3 separate regions of the Homo sapiens genome follow, and all the other regions are linked to region 2. The links are contacts of gene promoters, found by promoter capture Hi-C in human tissues and cell types (Jung and others, 2019). All regions are on one chromosome and are shown on one strand. The core of a region is centred on a gene start or on the middle of the fragment in contact, and the rest is flanking DNA. Distances in the headings are between cores, read along the strand shown.

Region 1 (3,948 bases), core at 477-2,976, 990 kb after region 2:
AACCAAAACATATTATTGGTTGAGCCTACAGAAAATTGCCAATATTCAACCATTTTTGACATACAAAAATCTCAATTTCATGTGGTTCAGCCTAATCACAGACTTGAGCCTTTGGCTCTATTCGTTCTAAAGTTCGGCTTTTCAAAGACTCAGTAGACTATTGCGACCTGAAACTTTCCTTTGTAACTTTGTTATTCTGGGAATGGAGTTCTACGTCCCTAACAACTGACCACAAACAAATTTTGGAACATAATCTATTCATAAGTTGAGGTCTGCCTACAAAGAATGTTCTTTCCTGTGCAAGACAGGTTGATGAATTGCATTTATTAGAATTACAGGATAAAGAAACCACAAAAGGCTAACTTTGGGTCTCCAGATAGCCCTCTCAGCCTTCTGGCTCCAAAACATAATCATAATTTAAGCTTGTCTGGTGGTGAGCCAGGCTGGCCCGGGAAAAATTAGTGCAATCAGACTCATGAGTCTAGGTGAAGGCCACAGTTCTCAACATAGAAACACACATAAAAAAAGCTGACTAATCAAAGAGCGAACTTCAGAAATGAAGAAGAGATAAAGAAAACAAACAAACAACAAAAAAAGAGTAGACAAACGTGGGGATGTGATTCTAAACAGTGTTCTCAACCATGCCTGCCTGCCTGTAGAAATAACTTATGGAGGCTTAAAGATACAGGTGCCTGTGCCTCCCCAGACATTCTAATTTCAGTGGGCAGAAGTGTATCTGGGCACCCAAGTTTTACAAAGCACCCTAGGCAGTTCTAATAAGCATTCTTTTTTGAGAACTATGGTTCTAAAGATTAGTCCAAAACCAGGAAATAGATCCATGGAGTAAAAGATAGGAAACACGAATAGGATTTATAGGTCTAAAATGAGCCCTTGATCCAGGCAGTCACCCTAACAGGTGAGGCCATTGTCAGAATTCCTTGTGGTAGTTTCCTGGAAGCATAAAGGCTTCCAGGGAGTCAGAAAGGTGTGTGGCATTAGGAGAACACAGCAAATGGTCATAGGGCACCAGTCAAGGGTTCAGGTAGGACCCTAAGGAGAGGGGAAAATGACGGGTAAAAAACAGGCACAAATTCCACCACTAAGAGAATTCTGAAGATAGGGCAGGAACCAAAAAACCATGGATCTGTACCTAGATGGACATGAGATATCACCGTGAAGCTGAAAGATGAGATTCATTCAATACTGAGTCCTCAGGTCCTTCTTATCCTTCTCCTTACATCCAGGATTGTTCCTACAGCCCAGAGGAGGCTGTATTATCCCAGCAGTAGGGGTAAAGAATTTAGGGGCAAAACCCCAGCAAGCCTTTGTAGTTTTTCCCTTAGAATAAGCAACTTACTTCCTTCTGTTTGCCATGCCCCAAAAAGGGGGACTTTTTCTTGAAATTCTGCTCAAGACCTAATTTTGTACTCTAATGGCATAATATATGGCCCACTCTCTCTCTCAATGTATAGTCATGTACAGTTGCACAGTTTGTACACTGCACAAAGGCACATGACTGAGAGCTAGGGACTCTTGAAGTCATGTGGCCTGGTGCAGAGTTGTTTCTGCCCAGAGGACCCCCTTTTTCAATTTTGCACAAAGACTCAGTGGGGGCTAGGAGTAGCTCTGACAGCAATGAATGATTTGCATCTATTCAAGTATTTGTTGACTGAATGATTAATCTATTGACTCTAACCCTGCCAAAATCGATGGACAAATGCTATGTTTTAAATATTTAACAGGGCATTCTGCATTTACCCTGCACACTGACATTTTCTCCCTAAAAATGTTCATTTAAAAAAGGAAACTCCATCAAGTGTAGCAAGAAAAAGCTTGTACTCTTGCCCAGCCAACTTCATCCACTGACGACAGCACAGAAAAACATAAAAGCCCCTTGTTTCGCTGTCTTTGTTTCCCATGTTCTGAGGAAAATTGCACTGGAATTATGAACAGTTAGCAAATGGTATATAAACGACCAAAAGCCAAATGACAGCTCTATGAACAGACCCAGGCTGGCCCTGGCAAAGCCAGGCTGCTTGGGTTCTGGAACAAGAATTAAGGAATCAAGTTCCATTCCTGGCACTGTCCCCAGTTTGCTGTTAACCTTTTTTGCTGTCACCTCCTTTGCATCCACAGGGCTTTGTGACATGCACTGCAGTGCAAATGAGACACTATTTGATAAGATCTGAAAACCTCGGACAGAGGCCACAAAGCCAAGTCAATGCAGGGAGAGTTCCTCAGATGTGTCTCTCCCTGGGGCCCAGCTCTCTAAGGGATCTCTCGCTCTCTCTCTCTGGGGCTGTTGAGCTGCTTGATGAGATGTCAGCCTTTAACTCGACGGGAATCATGAGAGAAAAAAACAGATTGTAGAAAATATCTCATTTCCCAATGAGACAGAGATTCTTGACATAGCTTGACCCAGCAGTGTAGAAAAATTCAAGAGAAATGCATCAGTATCTTTAAAGAACAGACACATCCTGTACATCTGAGCTGGGCTTTCAATACTGTCCCTCCTCCAGGCTCACTCAATATTAAACCCTTTCATACCATGTGGCTCCTCCTGAGATTCCATCATAACTGTTTAGGCTCAGATGAGGACAACTCAAACCACTCTATTTGGACCTCATTTTCTGCCCTCTGTCCTTCCTCGCCAGAAAAAGCATTTGCTCTATTTTGTAGATCATATCTGTTCTAAAGGTGGGAACATGGTCCCTTCATAGCTGATGGAGTTCTCTGGATATATCTCCAAGACTGACTTGGTTGGTTTCCAGAAATTCCCTCCTTTCTCTAACACTTCCCAAAGAAGGAAGGATCCGTGAACTCACCTAACAAATTTGTTCAGATCTGCATCTGGTCTCACATCTGTTTCCTTCTCCACCCACTTCACTGGAATGCTCTCCGAGTGTGGGGAGTGTTTGGAACAAATCAGAAGAAAGTTCCTATTTAATAGAAGGTGGAGTGTTGGTTATTACACCTGGGTCCCATCGCCATCTCGGGTGCATCTAATTCCTCAGGAGTCCTGTTCTGACAGCATCCTCCAGGCCTGGTGCTCCCTTCTCAGAATTTACAATGGAAGATTGGGTGGAGGAGGGACTGGCTTTGGTTTTGTTTGTTTTTTGCAGAGAACCGAATCTCTCTCTTTGCTTTCAAATTGGCTTCACCTTCCTCACCAAGGAGAGGCCATTGGGCTGAGCACCTGTGATGATACTGCCCTGGCTCCTCCTCAGCTTACACCATAACTACTGCACCCCAGATTTAAGGCTCACAAGTTGGACCGAGTGATCTCCACAATCCTTCTATAATTCTTTGAGCCTTTTTCATAGACTAAAACAATTTTCAAGTATAACCCCCTTTTGCTTTTCTCCTTCCCATCATTCATATTCAGCCAGGCTAGTTAAAATCAAAAGGAATAAAAAGTAACAAAAGTATATATGTGTGGCTATTATTAATAGGAAGCTATAATTTGAAAACCTCAATCTTCTCATTTGGAGGTAAGATGTGCAACGTCTTTACATGTATCTTTGTCTTTTCAGCCTCATTTCTTTCTCCTCCAGAAAAAGTATCCCCCAAGCAAACAAATAAAAAAATAGAATATATTTAAATTATAAGTAGAGAGGCCGAGGTGAGCAGATCACTTGAGGTCAGGAGTTCGAGATCAGCCTGGTGAACATGGTGAAACCCTGTCTCTACTAAAAATACAAAAATTAGCTGGGCATGGTGGCAGGCACCTGTAATCCCAGCTGCTTGGGAGGCTGAGGCAGGAAAATTGCTTAAACCCAGGAGGCAGAGGTTGTAGTGAGCCAAGTTCGCACCACTACACTCCAGCCTGAGTGACAGAGCAGGACTCCATCTCAAAAAAAAAGAAAAAGAAAAGAAAAAGTGTAAGTAGATATGCTTTAATTTAACCATCCCTACAAAATTAAATGATAGTAATACAGGAGCTAATCT
Region 2 (3,512 bases), core at 169-2,668:
AATCTATTAGACATTTGTTAATGAATGAAGTAATCTCCTTATGGGATAATAATAGTAACAATGAGAAGAAAAATAGAAATTCACAAAGTGGTGCTCTGCTTTCAGTGAGTTTTCATGAAAAGTTTAATGGTAATGAACGTTCATAAATTTGTCCAAGGTTAGAATATATTAATATGCAAATATTTAATTTGACATTTCATAAAAGAAAATTAAATAAGATGTGCAGCTAATTTATACAATTTTTTGATAAAAATACAGGGACAAGCACCCCAGATGCAGAAACATTTTAATCTCCTTGGAATTTTTGGGAGTAATATTGAGGTTGAGAACTGTATGGTCCGCCACATAAGATTTACAATCTGCAGGGTCCCTCCTTTATAAGGCCAGCCGTGCTTGTGTTCAAGGACAAAAGTTTAGCCAAATGACTTTAATCATTAGGACCTCATTTCCTGTCTGAAACAGATGAGCACCAATTATCTGCAAGATATTTTATGGTATACATGGTTAATGATTTAAGAAGTTATTTGCCAGAATATTTGAAATAAATTTACAAAATACACTTTAAGTATTGATTGAAATTAATCAACTTTTTGAAAGATACTAGGCCTGCAACAGAAGTCACGGTGAGGGTTGAGGAAGGCTAACTATTGTCACTTCTGTAGCTGAGGATAAGGCAATAAATTACTCTCTTAATTTTTAAGAAGAAAAGGCATTTTTACCATCTATGTTATTCTATGTAGAGTAGAAATTCTGGTACATCCAAAATATTAAAATTGTTTGTCTAAGAGATATTTACCAAGATAAAGACAAGAAGACTTTTTACAGAAAAAGAAATGCATCATTTTCTTCGAAATAACATTAGAGGAAAAAACCTGTGAGACATGAACAAAGACCTACTATAATGAAAAACATATTTTAAACAATAACCATTCAAATATAGTTTAACACTTAAATAATGTTCACTTTGACCAGTTTGAAAGAAGACTCTGTTTTCATTTTGGAAAGCAGTTCCAACAGGTTACCTAACAATTTGACATTTTTCTTAAAATCGCAAATTGTTGAGAAACTTCAGGAATTTTCAAGTAAGAGAATGCCCTGCTGTTTGGAAACAAGGTAACAGCAAAGCATAATCATATTGTAAAGAAACATTAACATCACTCTCAGTTTGTAAATTGGGTTTCCCCCTTACAGCTACGTAAGGCATTTTTTTCTAAAAACTGTAGTAAGATAAAAATCATTGATTAATTAAAGACAAACTTGTTTCTTATAGTGTTTAATCATCCAAATACCTTAAATCAGGTTCTTACTTACCTCAAGATTGGTGTGTCAAGCTCTCTCTTTTGTTCTTTTGGTTATGTTTTAAACCTGCATTGGGTTAGAACTTGTTCCTCTTTTTCACTTTGGTGGGTTACTTCCTTCTTTCCCTCCTTCGTTCACGCTATTTAATACTTGCAAAGTTTCCTGGCTCTAGAGGAAGTCAGTATCAGATGCAGCAGAATTAAGATAAATGGCGTGAGGTTTTGAATAAGGAAGTCTGGCCCTTCATCTTTGTCAAGTAATAGTTTTTTAACTGTGTCAGAAAATAATACGTAAAGCCTACATGGTTTTTTATTTGGGCCATATTTGCAGTTCCCACTTTAATATCAATAAAAGTCACTTCACTTGTACTTTGATTTTTTAAAAAAAGAAATATTTTAATTGTAGTAACACATAGGTCTTGGGCTTTTATTATTATTATTATTATTTACTTGTGTTGCTAGACCAGTCCTCTCTTCAAATATTAATATTATGTACCAATGCTCCCAAGTTATAGCCATACAGGTCAAATCAGTGTCCCAATTTGGGTTTGGAAAATGTTAACGTTCTTTTAAATTTATAAATAGGAATTTCCTAAGGTATGTTTTGAGGCCCATTACCCCTGAGATATGCTAGCAGCTCTTCCATCAAGTAAATGTGGGGAATACTGCTTCCCTGGAGATTCATGGGTACATCAGCATGCTAAAGGCTCTCAGCAGTCTTACAGCCAGCAAACAAAATAAAACCAAATAAGAAAAAGAAATTGTTTAACTTTGCTTAATAATAGTAGTCAGTATGTTCCTAGCACTAAGTACTCCAAACCTTTTGTGTAATACTCAGCAAATCTTGGCAACAACCCTGTGAGGGAGAAAAACTGTTATTAGTCCTATTTTACAGAAGAGGAAACAGAAGCACACAGAATGATCACTTGCCCGACAGAGCCTGCAGTTTGCCCCCAGCACCTGTGTGCTAAACCACTGCACTGGCTGCCTTGCTAGATTGAGTAACATGTTTCCCACATAGATACGCTTACCAAGAGCATCTCTTGGAGTCCAACTCATGGGAACACACACAGTGGGAGATGCTGAATTAGACAAATTACAGATGAATTCGACAGATGAGATGACAAAGTAATGGAAAATTTGTCTTTTAAGTTGTCTTGGAACTTTTTGAACCACAGAGGATTAACTTTGCATAAGGTGGTTTTAAAAAAGAGGATTTAGTTACTGAAATAACTACTGGACATTGGAAGGACAGGACGTATTATTAACACTTGCTGAGCACTGACATTATGCCAGGCATTGTGCTAAGAGATGAGGATGCAAGAGTGAATAAGCTCCCTGCAGCACTTAAAGCCAAGTAGAGAGGCTGCTGCGCCCACAGAACATTTCAGATCAAAGTGATAATGCCTAAGAAAGACAGGATTATGGACAGGGACAGTGGAGGTAAAGGAAAGAGGCATCCAGCTCAGAGGGTGGTCAGGGAAGGCAAGACCTGAGCTAAGCCTCATAGAATAAGGTGTTAAGGCAGAATAGGGGTGTCCTGGACAAAAATCTTACAGTGAAGGAGGTTATGAAGTTGTGAAGCTATGAACTTGATGTGCTCCACATTCTCACCACTATATTTAACTTCAGTATTAGCCACCCCTCCAAATAATATACACACTCACCTGCCTAGGCATACATCTGTAAGAAAGGCAATTTATACAATGTTTGTATAAAATTATGATTTTCTCTAGAAGGCAGGACAACTGGTGCTCATTCAGCTTTTGCCCTTTGAAGTTAAAAAAGTTGCTTAACCCCTTATTACTTTAGTTTTTCTAACGGAAAATAAAATGGAGGGAAAATGACTGGCACTTTCCTCAAATAGAATTTTTTTGATGTAATGGATATAATTATTCTTCAAGTTTATAAAAGAAATGCTGTATATATTCAAAATAGAATTATTGGATCATTGTCATTTGTAGGGATTATGTTTTATGTCTTGAATTCTATATTTTCCTACTTCCCAATCTTTGGCCTCGCAAAATACATATTTATTGTCTCCTTTCAGTTCCTTTTTAATCACAGCAATTATGTCTAGGTTTTCTTTTCCTGCTTTTTCTTCTACAGTTATACGGTTTGGGTAGTAAAGGGCTTAGGAAGTAGTTTATTGTTCTGTAGTGTAATATGGACTGGATCTTTCATCTAAGTAAATCTTCCTCTCCTATTAATTGG
Region 3 (3,520 bases), core at 531-3,030, 510 kb before region 2:
GCTGTCCCTCAAGTTGTGTTGTCAGAACTTTTCTGGACCTCAGTTCCTTGTCTGAATGTGTCGTCATCATTACATCTGCATATGAGGGCAGCTGTGTGTTGTTCACATAGCGCTCCCAAACATAAGCGTGTCTCACTATATGGCAGGGCTGTCTGCCTGTGGGCACCTGCTTCCTCACCCTGTCCAGAGATCTGACCATGGTGATAGTAACCATGATTCTTTAATTCAAGGCACTGTAAAGTTAGCAAAAAGATTGAGGATAAACAAATCCACTCCTAGATTCATACTGTTTATCATAGAGTTTGCATCAGCCTAATTATATGATGAGCTGTCATACACCATTAAGAGCAAGGACTGGGTTTGCATTTCAATCCTGTCACCTATGGAGCAAGTTATTGAATATGTAAGAAGGTCCATCTTTTCATGTTAAAATAGGGATAATATTTATCTTATCAGAATGTTGCCAAGATTAGAAATGAGGTATGTAAAGTTCTTTGTGCATAGTAGGTGCCTAGTAAATGTTGTAACTTATTAAAGTTTCTTCATTAAATTTGGTGAAGCCAAGTCTGACTATAAGAATTGTATCTCTCTGGCTCTATTCAAATTTCTCTTCTAAATTATCTAGATTCTCTCTGCAGATAGCAGCTACCGTGGCAATAGGAAGGAGATTCTAGTCTCCTAGAAATGGAGATTAGGGAAAATGAAATGAATTTTAATTTGGCTCAGAGATTTTTGAAAAGATTTCTTATTCCCTAGAAATATGGAAACTTTCCTTGGTACTTTTTACTCAATATGATTAAATAATCTCCCTTATTGCAGCAAATTAGGGACTTATTTGAATAAGTTAAATCCTTTCACATCCAGCACCTATTAGAATGCCTGGCACATAATAGTTGCCAAATAGAAGTCTGTTGAATGAAGGGACCATCACTCACATTCAGCAGGGAGAAGAGGCTGCAGATTTTAGAGGGAAGGGAAACTGTATGTGTGTTTCTGCATAATGTTTTAAGACAAGGAGTATTATCTACTATATGTAATCTGTTTTAAATGTTTTTGATGATTTTGCTGAGGGTGAAAACCCTTGTCCTTTCCTGTCACCTATAATCAGTATAAAAATATTGATGTTTTGCATCTGCATCAGCCAACAATCTTTTTGTGGCAATAGTACACTACCTTGAGAAATACAGGGACATAATAAGATACTTTTCTGGCCTCAAAGATCCTCCACCCTGGATGAGGAGTCAAAGTTGAAGACAGTTGAAAAAAATAGAACAGTGATTCTTAACACTGGGGAACATTCAGGAAATTTCAGGGGACAGTGACTGGGGAGTACTCCTGGTGCTTGGTGGGCAGAGGCCAGGGAGGCTAGATGTCCTGGGATACATGGGACAGCCTTTCACCAGGGAGGTTTGCTGTGTGTCCCACACAACTTCCAAAAAGTCCCAGCAGCTATTCACATAGGTGAAAAAACAAAATGCATTTATAATTCTCTGAGCCTAGAACCCAACTACTTTTTACGTATAAGTATTAAATATTTTTACATGGTTTTAATCCACACCAAATTTTCTAGTAATGCAGCAATAGTGTATATTGTGAAGATGGCACTTTGTTACATTTGAAACCTTTCAAAGAATCATTCATCATATCAGGAAAAAGGAAAATTTTTCTAACATAACACCCCTGTATTCATTTTCATGCTACTGTTACTTTTGTGGTAATTCTCCCCATAAGAGAAATCATAGCAAACCCTTAGATAGCACTTACTGTTCTAAGAGCCTTATGTATATGCACTAATTTAATCCTCACAACAACCCTGTAAGGTAGAAACTATTATTCTCATTTTCCATGTGAGTAAACTGAAGTATGGGAAATTTAAATAGCTTCCCCAAGGTCACACAGCTAATCAGTTATAGTAGTTTTTGACTACTTTTTAAAATGTAGTTGTGTACAAGTATTTATATTTTGTAGTATTTGATAGAAATTACTCATTTCTCCTTTATTTCACTGATAAGCCATTATACTGATTTTTTTTTTAAATCTATGTAGGGAGTATTTAGCCTATATGTATTCAGTACAGTATTATGAAGGAAGTGTATTTAGGAATTTCATTTCAGGATGAATACTTGTTATAAAAAGTAAAAAGTAACTGAGTCTTAAGTTTGTCAAAGAATAAAATTGATGGATGGATGGATTTTTTTTTTTTTAAAGGAGGGGGAAGGCAGTGAGCCTGACTGCAGAGTGTAATTTGCATTTAAATGACAAGTGGTATGACACTTCCACCTGTTCTTCAGGGAGCCTCACCAAGTATGTTTTGCCTCGAGGCCTTTGCTTTTGCCATTCCTCACTTGGTTTTCCCTTCTCTACCCTACCTCTCACCCCGCAATCCACATGGCTTGTTTCCTTTCTTCAGATCTCCTGGTATACGTCATCTCATCAGAGGGGCTTTCCATGATCACCTTATAGCAACCTCTATCCGTAATCCTTATCCCTTCTTTCTCTCCATTGTGCTTATCACCCCATGACGTATTATGTATTTATTAACTTAGTTTTGGAATATAAGCTGCAGGTGAGAAAGCTTTGTTTCTCTTTCTCAGGCAGTGCCTGACATAGAGTAGGAGCTTAATAAATATTGAATGAAGGGGCAGATGTAGAATCGTTAGAATTTGGAAAAAGGCTGGAATATTTGGTCCTAAGATGTACTTTGAATGATTTAAATCTGACTGAGAAAACCAGTTTGAGGTTGGCAGAGTAGAAGAAGGAGGGTATTTTAGGCCGAGAATTTGGTAAGACAGAGATGGGATTGTCAGCTGTATGGTGAAGGTGGAGGAGTACTAGTCTTTCAGGAACAGAGCAAATGTAATAGAGCAGCTGAAAATAGGCTTGGCGTTGGGGATTAAGGTCAGATATGGCAGTCTGGAATTTACAGAGGGATGTGATGAAGCAGGCATTACTAGCTTTGAAGTAACAGGCTGCGGCTGGATTTGAGGAAAATTGATCTGGCAGTAGAGGTCAATATGAGACTAGAAGGGGAAAAGCCAGGGGCAAGAAGATGAGCTAAGAAGCAATTACAGCATTTTGGCCCTGAGACATGGAGTGCTGTGATGCAATTGAAAGGAAATATAACATATATATTTTAAAAACAAATGACAAACCAGAGAATTTTTTTAAATATTAGTATAATAGAATGATTATCATAATGATCATTGTCACTGTCATCTTTACTGTCTGATACCTACTTATCTTCAACTTTGTACCATTTGTTGTTTTAAGTGCTTTGCATATATGGTCTCATTTAATCCTCATATGTATCTGTTCTGGTTATTTATTGCTATGTAAGAAATCACTTCAAACCTAATACTTTGAAATATGAATGTATTTTTATTAGTTTTCATGGCTTTGTGGGTTAACTGGTCTTGGCTAGACATTCTTGCTTGGCATTCCTCATATGGTTGCAGCCCAGTGGGTAGCTATCTGAAAGCTGAACTGGCTGGATGGCTAGGATGGCTTCTTGCCCCTCAGG

What was found. The method cuts DNA at HindIII sites, captures the fragments that hold promoters and counts their contacts. A contact is called where the count stands out against the background at its distance.
Region 1: a contact is called between a fragment that was not itself captured here and the fragment with the promoter of GAPT in region 2, in 2 of the 25 tissues and cell types used here (adrenal gland and dorsolateral prefrontal cortex).
Region 3: a fragment that was not itself captured here is called in contact with the fragment with the promoter of GAPT in region 2 in 1 of the 25 tissues and cell types used here (mesendoderm cells).

The regions. Positions count from the first base shown.
Region 1 is chr5:57,500,092-57,504,039 of GRCh38, reverse strand. The region is part of intron 3 of RMEL3 (enriched in melanoma 3); the gene reads right to left. Among named protein-coding and RNA genes, the nearest start is that of ACTBL2, 19 kb to the right of the region's middle. The HindIII fragment of the contact is 3,585 bases long and covers 1-3,518 here.
Region 2 is chr5:58,489,341-58,492,852 of GRCh38, reverse strand. GAPT (GRB2 binding adaptor protein, transmembrane) reads right to left here and starts at 1,418. Exons shown (of 3, transcript NM_001304431.2): 1 at 1,312-1,418. The HindIII fragment of the contact is 14,545 bases long and covers 1-3,512 here.
Region 3 is chr5:59,002,651-59,006,170 of GRCh38, reverse strand. The region is part of intron 6 of PDE4D (phosphodiesterase 4D); the gene reads left to right. Among named protein-coding and RNA genes, the nearest start is that of PDE4D-AS1, 35 kb to the left of the region's middle. RefSeq lists an enhancer at 2,364-3,259. The HindIII fragment of the contact is 5,756 bases long and covers 1-3,520 here.